3 separate regions of the Homo sapiens genome follow, and all the other regions are linked to region 3. Evidence: promoter capture Hi-C in human tissues and cell types (Jung and others, 2019). All regions are on one chromosome and are shown on one strand. The core of a region is centred on a gene start or on the middle of the fragment in contact, and the rest is flanking DNA. Distances in the headings are between cores, read along the strand shown. Region 1 overlaps SEC24A (SEC24 homolog A, COPII component). Region 2 has its middle 40 kb from the start of SAR1B. Region 3 holds the start of SEC24A (SEC24 homolog A, COPII component).

What was found. Contacts are between HindIII fragments. The study calls those that stand out against the background at their distance.
Region 1: a contact is called between a fragment that was not itself captured here and the fragment with the promoter of SEC24A in region 3, in 1 of the 25 tissues and cell types used here (small bowel).
Region 2: a contact is called between a fragment that was not itself captured here and the fragment with the promoter of SEC24A in region 3, in 3 of the 25 tissues and cell types used here (H1 embryonic stem cells, psoas muscle and small bowel).

What each region holds. Positions count from the first base shown.
Region 1 is chr5:134,702,882-134,706,092 of GRCh38, forward strand. It overlaps SEC24A (SEC24 homolog A, COPII component), which reads left to right. Exons shown (of 23, transcript NM_021982.3): 16 at 878-1,051; 17 at 2,446-2,556. Among named protein-coding and RNA genes, the nearest start is that of CAMLG, 34 kb to the right of the region's middle. The HindIII fragment of the contact is 7,432 bases long and covers 1-3,211 here.
Region 2 is chr5:134,591,086-134,594,269 of GRCh38, forward strand. No RefSeq gene overlaps it. Among named protein-coding and RNA genes, the nearest start is that of SAR1B, 40 kb to the right of the region's middle. RefSeq lists enhancers at 454-513, 1,334-1,927. The HindIII fragment of the contact is 7,095 bases long and covers 1-3,184 here.
Region 3 is chr5:134,647,471-134,650,481 of GRCh38, forward strand. It overlaps SEC24A (SEC24 homolog A, COPII component), which reads left to right and starts at 1,315. Exons shown (of 23, transcript NM_021982.3): 1 at 1,315-1,703. The coding sequence starts at 1,607. RefSeq lists enhancers at 856-915, 926-1,215, 963-1,500. The HindIII fragment of the contact is 35,050 bases long and covers 1-3,011 here.

The DNA of each region.
Region 1 (3,211 bases), core at 148-2,647, 55 kb after region 3:
AACCTCCCGAGTAGCTGGGACTACAGGCGTGTGCCACCATGCCCGGCTAATTTTTGTATTTTTAGTAGAGACAGGATTTCACCATGTTGCCAAGGCTGGTCTCGAACTCCTGACCTCAAGTGATCTGCCTGCACCAGCCTCCGAAAGTGTTGGGATTACAGGCATGAGCCATTGTGCCTGGCCTAGTTTTTCTACTGATACCCATTGAAGGTATTTCTAAATTTTTTTTGCTGTGACACACCAGTCTACTTGAAATTTTTCTGCATGTGTGAATTTGGCACTTAAATGAGTATATCTGTAGGACACATTCTTTGATATGGGATTGCTAAAGTCAAAATAAGTATCTAGAATTTTGATAGATACTGCCAAATTATCGTCCAAAAATGTTTTTTGTGTTTCTTTTTGAGACAGAGTCTTGCTCTGTCGCCCAGGCTGGAGTGCAGTGGCGCAATCTTAGCTCACTGCAACCTCTGCCTCCCGGGTTCAAGCAATTCTCCTGCCTCAACCTCCTGAGTAGCTGGGATTGCAGGCGCCTGCCACCATGTTCGGCTAATTTTTGTGTTTTTGGTAGAGACAGGGTTTCACCATGTTATTGGCCAGGCTGATCTCAAACTGACCTCAGGCGATCCACCCACCTTGGCCTCCCAAAGTGCTGGGATTACAGGCGTGAGCTACCGCACCTGACCCAAAAATGTTTTTTGAAAATTAGTATCCCCACCTTCATTTCAAAAGCCATCTGTTATTCCTTAACCTCACTAAGTACTGTGTATTATCTAGATTTCTTTACTTTTTGCCAATCTGATAAGTAACTAGGATAAAATGTAAATATCAGTATGTAGGTATATAAAAATAATTTTGTTACCTTTTTCTCTTCTAGGTCTTTCCATTCATACTTTCCATGGAAACTTCTTTGTTAGGTCAACCGACTTACTGTCTTTGCCTAACGTCAACCCAGACGCTGGGTATGCAGTACAGATGTCAGTGGAAGAGAGTCTTACTGACACTCAGTTGGTTTCTTTTCAGTCAGCACTCTTGTATACATCCAGCAAAGGTAAATTGTTTGTTTTTTTTTGGATTTCAAATGTTCAAATATTGTCTGGATTTCAAATGTCAAAATGGGCTATAAAATACATGTAGCATATCTTATGTGTGCTAACTTAAAATTGCTGTTTTTATTTATTTATTTATTTATTTATTTATTTATGTAGAGACAGAGTCTCACTCTGTCACCAGGCTGGAGTGCAGTGGCGCAGTCTCTGCTCACTGCAACCTCTGCCTCCTGGGTTCAAGTGATTCTCCTGCCTCAGCCACCCGAGTAATTGGGAGTACAGGTGTGCGCCACCACATCCAGCTAATTTTTGTAATTTTAGTAGAGATGGAGTTTTGCCATGCTGGCCAGGATGGTGTGAATCTCTTGACCTCGTGATCTGCCCGCCTCTGCCTCCCAACGTGCTGGGATTACAGGCATGAGCCACTGCGCCCAGCCCTTAAAATTTTCATTACCAAAAGCAGTAAACCAACTAAAAAGTTCAAAAAAGAGATTTTTAAAAATTTAGCATATTGTCATTTGAATGCGATCCCTGTTCATTTAGTAATAACCTGAATGAAAAGAATTTTATAGTTAAAACAATTAAAAGAAGTAGGGTCAGGTGTGGTGGTCTGTAAACCTAGCACTTTGGAAGGCTGACTAGGGAGGATCACTTGAGGCCAGGAGTTCAAGACCAGCCTGGACAACATAGTGAGACACTGTCTCTAAAAAAATATTTTTTTAATTAGCCAGGTATAGTGGCACACACTGGTAGTCCTACCTACTTGGGAGGCTGAGTAGGGAGGATTGTTTGAGCCCAGGAGTTTGAGGCTGCAGTGAGTTATGATTGTGCCACTGCAGTCCTGCCTGGGCAACAGAATGAGACCTTGTTTCTAAAAAAAAAAAAAAAGGATGAAATTTTTAATATTTATGTACTTATTTATTTTTAATAGAGATAGGGTCTTACTATGTTGTTCAGCCCTGTCTTGAACTCCTGGCCTCAGGTAATCCTCCCACCTTAGCCTCCCAAAGTGCTGGGTGCTGGGATTACAGGTGTGAGCCACTGTGTCTGGCCAGTATAAAACGTTTGATACTGTCTCTGCTTACTATGTAACTATACTACCTGGTTCTAAATCGAAAAGAAGTTATTTATATTTATATTTATATATATATATATATATATTTTTTTTTTTTTAATTAATTTATTTTTTTTTAAGAGATGGAGTCTCACTGTATTGCCCAGGCTGCACTTAAACTCCTGAGCTCAAGGGATCCTCCTGTCTCTGCCTCTGGAGTAGGTGGGACTACAGGGATGCACCACTGCACCCAGCTAAGAAGTGATTTTTCCAAGTGACTTTAACATAATCTTTTGTTTTATATAGTTGCCCCTCACTGTTGTTTGTGTATTTTCCCCAAAGGCGAAAGAAGAATTCGTGTTCATACTTTGTGTTTGCCAGTAGTTTCGACTCTGAATGATGTCTTTCTTGGAGCTGATGTTCAAGCAATTTCAGGGTTATTGGCCAATATGGGTAAGAGTTGTTATCTGTTATAAATATCTTACAAGTAATAACATTAGGCACATCCAAACAGTTTTGTTTTCCTTTAAATAGTTAGCTTTATAGTTTGAATGTTTTAGATCCCCTGGGTGCCTGCTAAGTAACTATTTGAAAAGATCTGCTGCAGATAATCTTATCTTTTTTGTTTGTTTATTTAAACAAATTTATTGAGATATAATTACATACCATACCACTTCACCCAGTTTAATTGATAATTCATTTGTTTTTAGTGTTTTTACAGAGTTGTACAGCTATCACCACAATCTAATTTTATAACATTTCTATTGTCTCAAGAGGAACCTCATGCTCATTAGCAGTTACTGCCCACTTCTTCCTCCCTCCCTTACTGGCCTTAAGTAACCACTAAACTACTTTCTGTCTCTATATATTTATATATTTGTCTACACTGAACTTAGCTATATCTTTTTTTTTTTTTTTTTGAGATGGAGTCTCGCTCTTATTGCCCAGGCTGGAGTGTAATGGCGCAATCTTGGCTTACCACAACCTCTATCTCCTGGGTTCAAGCGATTCTCCTGCCTCAGCGTCCCGAGTAGCTGGGATTACAGGCATGCGCCACCATGCCCAGCTAATTTTTGTATTTTTAGTAGAGACAGGGTTTCTTCATGTG
Region 2 (3,184 bases), core at 159-2,658, 56 kb before region 3:
ACAGATTGGCCAGCAACTAATCAGAGGCTGAAGTGGATACTTGGCCCGTGGTCAATCAGAGGCTGAAGTGGAAATTTCTGTCTTGTTATCACAGGAGTGAGGATGTGGCCTGTATGCTGCCTAATCTTGCCTAGAAGTGGCTGCACCTGCTGTTCTTTTGCTTATGCCTTGATCCTTGGTGACCCTAATTCCCTATTCTCCTATCTCACCAGGGCCCTTTAACTTGAGGCCAGCTGGGTGAGGTGGGGCTAGCTGGCAGATGGGGCTGGGTGAGCCTCCATACACAACTTGGGCAGAGGAGAGAAGGAAGAAGCTTTATCCACTCAGCTTGTCACCTTTGCACCATCAGAACACCATTGTGGCGGCTGACTCATCTGTCACCAGGTGAGTGTGCCATTAGGAGCACAGGATTAGTCATGGGCGTGGTCATGGGGTGAGATGCCAGGTCGGGCTGGGATAGTGACACGGTGAAGCATGGAGCAGGGCCTAGAGGCACTGGAAGAGAAGAGGAGGCATCCCTCCTCAGGCTTGGAAGGGGGCCTAGGCCTCCCTGATAGGGATGGAGGCCTCTGTCTTTGGGATAATGCTCAAGTGGGTTGCCTCGGGTCTAGAGGTTTGTATTTAGTGGGTGGTCCCCCTTATTCTTCCCTCCATTCTCAAACTCCTGACTTTAGGTGATCCGCCCACCTCAGCCTCCCAAAGTGCTGGGATTACAGGCATGAGCCACTGCTCCCGGCCACTTCCCTCCATTCTCAATGAACATTAAGCAACATGTGGCCATTCAAGTCTAGAGAATTTATCCATGAATCCACCACGAAAGAGGAAGCTGCTAGAAATGGAATTTTGTTGTCCTTGGGGTAATGGAAAATTATTGACCTGCATTCTGGCCCTTAGTTTCCTCATTTGTTAATAAGGATGAGAGCTCCTGCTGGGCCCACCATGCAGGGTGGCTGAGAGGCTCAAAGAGGACATGGGTATGAAGTGGACAAAATGAGGAGCCACAAAAGGTGTTAGAGGAGGGCAGGACACAGTGGTACAGGAGAGCACTCACAGACTTGCTGACTGACCAGAGGCAAGGAGGCCAGAGGGATTTGTTTACCAACTCTCACTTCCCGGATTCTGAGCCGGTAAACCCTGTTTGTTTACAAGTTTTCACGGGCCTCCCTAAGCCCAACGGTGGTCTGGGGTCAGTTCCACTCTAGGGACTGGCCCGGTGCAGCCCCTAGATGGGGGCTGGTTGCAAACAGCTGATGGTCAGAGAAGCCGCTTCAGTCACATATCTGACAGTCAGCTGCCTGGGCCAAAAAACCACACAGCTCCCCAGCCTTGTGGGTTACTCAGGCCCCTTGTCAGCTCTGTGATCATCCTTCACACCTGAAAGCTTGTAACCCGAGAGGCTAGAGGTAGTTGAATAGGACATCCCTCCTGTGCCCTCACCTCACCCCTTTTGCAAAAAAGGAACATTCCATTGCTAGGGATTGAATGTTGTGATTAACATGAAACTCAGAAGAACAGCCAAGGGTTTGTAGAAGCCAAGGAGGAAAAGTGACTCAGCAAAATAAACTTTCACCTGTGGGTACTCTGAACTGCTATTTTGGGACTCTGGGAGCCTGCCTGGTTCTAGTGCCTGTTGCTTGGTATCAAAGCATTGCTCCCTAAATGCCAGCTGGAATATTCATGCCCATTCCTTACTGAAGTAGCATCCTAGGAGGCTTGGGAGGGAGGTCTGATGGATGGGCCTTATCTCTGCCACATCCAGGTAAGAGTCACAAGTGAAGCCTGGGCAACCTGGCAAAACCCCATCTCCACAAAAAGATACAAAATTAGCTGGGTGTGGTGGTGGGCATCTGTAGTCCCAGCTACTCAGGAAGCTGAGGTGGGAGGATAGTCTGAGTCCAGGAGGCTGCAGTGAGCTGTGATCATACCACTGTACCCCAGCCTGGGTGGCAGAGTGAGACCCTGTCCCAAAAAAAAAGAGTCTCAAGTGAGCCAATGTCACAGGAGAAGTAGACATGCCCCCGTAGAGGCATCGGGGATCAGAGGGGACTCTCAAGAAGAGAGTAAATCTTAGGGATTCCTCTCCCCTCCAGGAATACTTCCATCCAGTCAAGAAAGGGCATGGGATTGGCACTAACTTGCCCCGTCAATTTTAACTCCTTCATGGCCCTCATCTGAAAAGCCTCATGTGGTTTGTAGGACCTCTGAGTTTGGGGAGAGTGTGAGAGCTCATTTCATCCAATCACTATCCCATGGAGTTCCCCTCTCTAGGAGAGACTGTTTGAATTCCAACAACAGCCCATCATTTGAAAGGCAACCCACAGCTGTGTTAAAAAGGTCTCTCTTAAATTCAATTGTAATGTCTCTTTGACACCTGACATTTCTATTCACAGGTCCTCTTGAGTCCTGGAGTCATAGATGAAGTCCAATTCACTTTCACTGGGCAGTCTTTGGACTATTTCATGACAGTTAAGCTACTCTGCCCACTTGATTTTTCAAGTTCAGTACTTTCCTAGGGGATTAAAACACAGGGTATTCTCCCTTCTTCATCCATTACACTTCTGCTTAATGGATGAAACCACCATACTGCTCCACTGTTCAGGCAAAGACAGTCCCAGGTCAGAGGTTTTTTTGTTTTGCTTTATGTTTTTTTGAGACAGGGTCTTGCTTTGTTGCCCAGGCTGGAGTGAACTGGCATGACCATGGCTCACTGCAGCCTCTACCTCTCAGGCTCAAGTAATCCTCCTGCCTCAGCCTTCTCAGTAGCTGGGACCACAGGTATGCATCACTATGCCCAGCTTTTTTTTTTTTTTTTGGTAGAGATGAAGTCTTGCTATGTTGCCCAGGCTGGTCTTGAACTTCTGGCTTCAAGTGCTCCCCCAAATTTGGCCTCCCAAAGTGCTGGGGTTACATGTGTGAGCCACTGCACCCAGCCTTCTTCTTTTTCTTTCTTTTTTTTTTTTTTAAGACGGAGTCTTGCTCTGTCACCCAGGCTGGAGAGCAATGGCGTGATCTCAGCTCACTGCAACTTCCGCTTCCCAGGTTCAAGCCATTCTCCTGCCTCAGCCTCCCAAGTAGCTGGGACTACAGGCATGTGACACCATGCCCAGCTAATTTTTGTATTTTAGTAGAGACGGGGTCTCACCATGTTGGCCAGGCTGGTGTTGAACTCCTCACCTCAAGTGAT
Region 3 (3,011 bases), core at 65-2,564:
CCAGGCATGGTGGCAGGAGCCTGTAATCCCAGCTACTCGGGAGACTGAGGCAGGAGAATTGCTTGAACCCAGGAGGCGGAGGTTGCAGTGAGCGGAGATGGCACCACTGCACTCCAGCCTGGGCAACAGACCAAGACTCTGTCTCAAAAATATATATATATATATATTTTTTAAATAGAGATAAGGGGACTCTCCCTGTTGTCCAGACTGGTCTCAAACTCCTGGCCTCAAGTAATCCTTCTGTCTCAGCCTCCCAAAGTGCTTGGATTACAGGAGTGAGCCACCTTGCCCAGCCCGACACAGTGGTTTAGATCTGGCTTTTTTTTGTATGTAATATAACACTTCATAGCAGGCATTTGGTATTAAATGAATTAGGTAAGATGTACTTCACACTGAGGTTTCGAAACCGCGTGGCATGACATTTTAATCCACAGTACAAATCTGTAAAGGAGGGCTTTATCGTCAGCACAGAGCAGGAAAAACCTAAATAGAATGAAGGCAGCTAAGATGATTACTCAATCATTAATTAACTATGTTGTCCAATCACCGCAGTTTCGACCTCCCTTTGGCTTCAAAAGTCAAAAAAGTCAACTTGCAAAAAAAAAAAAAGTCTACTTGCTCTGAAAGGAAGTTTGAGTTCTTTACCTTACTGTAAACTCTTAGAAGAGGAAACAAAACTGCCATTTAAATGTGCTAATGAACTTGAGCGTGACTATGCTGTGAATCAGCGAGTTTCAAAATTAAAATTCCTCTGAGTCCTCCAGTCAAAGACAAAGGCCTCCTTCTTGGCTTGATCACACTATTAACATGTACACATATTTAACCACCTCTTTTTAAAACCCCTTATAATTTACATCTGAAACACGAAGACGAAATGTGAATGAAATACTGCGATGAACATTAACCGCCCCAGCTCCCAGTGGTGGTACGGTCTCAACAGAGGACGATGACTTCTATGGTCTCAGGTAATCTTCACAAAACCCGAGGAGAGGAACTGTCAGTCCCACCCCACGAAAGCGGCTACTGAATCTCAGATTGCCCCACGATCCTGGCTCTGCGAGCGAGGTCACGTTCACAACGGCGGGAATTTCCGTAGCGGTGACACACGGCACTTCCGGCCGGCCGTGAGAGTCGGTGACGTGGCGGCGAGGCCGGGCACGGTCGTCGGGGTCGGGGCACCAGGAGCTGTCAGGTGGCCTCGGGGCAGCCCGGCTGGCAGAGAAGAGTTCGCCGGCGCGGCGGCGGCTGCTGCGAGCCCGGAGCCGGAAGTGCCACGTGTCCTGATTGCGGCTGCGCGGCCGGCGGCTGACAGGCACTTCCGGCCAGGGCCTCCCTCCTTCTCTCTAGGTTTGGCTGCCGCCTTCTAGCCGGGCGTTCGCGGCCCCGCCGGCCCGACTCTCAAGCCTCAGCTCCCAGGCTAGGCTGTGGCCGCCGGTGGCCTGGGGAGAGTGCGGCGCCATGCCTCGGGCTTAATGCGCCCCCCCCTCTTCTCCCAGTCTTCAGTCTTAAGTCGTTAGCCTCCTCCCTCCGCTTTCAGCAGTGGTCTTTCAGCTCTCTTCTTGTGCGCTGTTGTCGACCCCGACCAGCCCCTTCCAACCCAGTCATCATGTCCCAGCCGGGAATACCGGCCTCCGGCGGCGCCCCAGCCAGCCTCCAGGCCCAGAACGGAGCCGCCTTGGCCTCGGGGTCTCCCTACACCAACGGTGAGTGCTGTCCGGGGGGAGGGCGCAGCCTGGCCAGGGCTGACTGACCTTTGCGTGCCACTGCTGCTTGAGGCGACATAGATAGAGAGAGTGACCTCCTTACCGGGTTCTGGCGCGGATGGTGGTGGGCGGCTGGGCCAGGGGACCACGGCAGTTGTGCACCTGTAGCCCCAGGCTCGTCTCAGTCTTTCACATTTATTTAGTCGGTCACCAAAACAGTAAATGAGCACCTGCTGTATGCAACGCCCTGGGTGAAACACGGGTGAGAAAATGCCTCAAAACTCGAATATAAGGATCATAGTGTTTGTGTGCCTTCGCCTTCCTTGCCACCTCACCCCAGTCTCCTAGAGAGCAGGATGTGGGGTCTGATTCTTCTGGGTTCCGCAGGCCCTGAAGTGGGGTGGGGGTCGTACTCAGTCTGAGTTTCTGGAGATGAATGCATGCTTTTGGGACACCCCTTTAGGGCCTACTCATCTCTCCCAGAACCTTCCCAGAATTGTACCTACAACAGCTGTTCAATGTTTCAGCTGTGGAAAAACCAAATAGAAGGGAGGATCTCCTGGTTGACTTCTAGATGTCTGGACAGCATTTGGAAAGTGGGTGGACACAACTCTCTGAATCTCTGACAAGAGTCTACATGTACATTATAGTTTGTCATTTGATGTGAGAATGTCTTATAATTTTATACCTCTTCTAGGATTCCTTAAATCGTCCTACATTGTGATTTGCTAAGATTATTTCAGTTGTTACAATAGACAAAGACTTTCTGCCGACAGATTGCCTACTTACCAATTTACTTACAAATCTTTGGTTTACAGAAATAAGACTAGTAGAATAATGCTAAAGAACTTAAGTTGCCCATTAGAGTCTAAGAGTTCTGTGAAGTTGGAGAATACAGACAGTGACTAAAATCTCTAATTTACATTGTTTTTAGAGAAGACCGCTGTTTTCTTTACAAAGATGGCTCTAAAAGACTTTTAAAAATGTCTGTGAGTAGGCAACTATGTGGGCAGAAGAAAGAATAAGTGGAGGAAAGCCACTGAAAGGGTACTGAGTTAACCATTCTTTCTCAAAATTATGGTAACAGATTATGTACACTACATTTTATTCTAGAATATTTAGTAACATTTACACTGAGGATGAGAAAAAATGTTACATGGCTATGGATTTTTCTTATAATCTATAAATTGCAGTTTTACATTAACTTTAAATGACAAATCCTCAAATGTGCTTCAACATTTATATATGAGTGTAGTTGTCATAATATTGAAATGTTAAAGGGATTTGACCACTGTGGTATGCTGTATT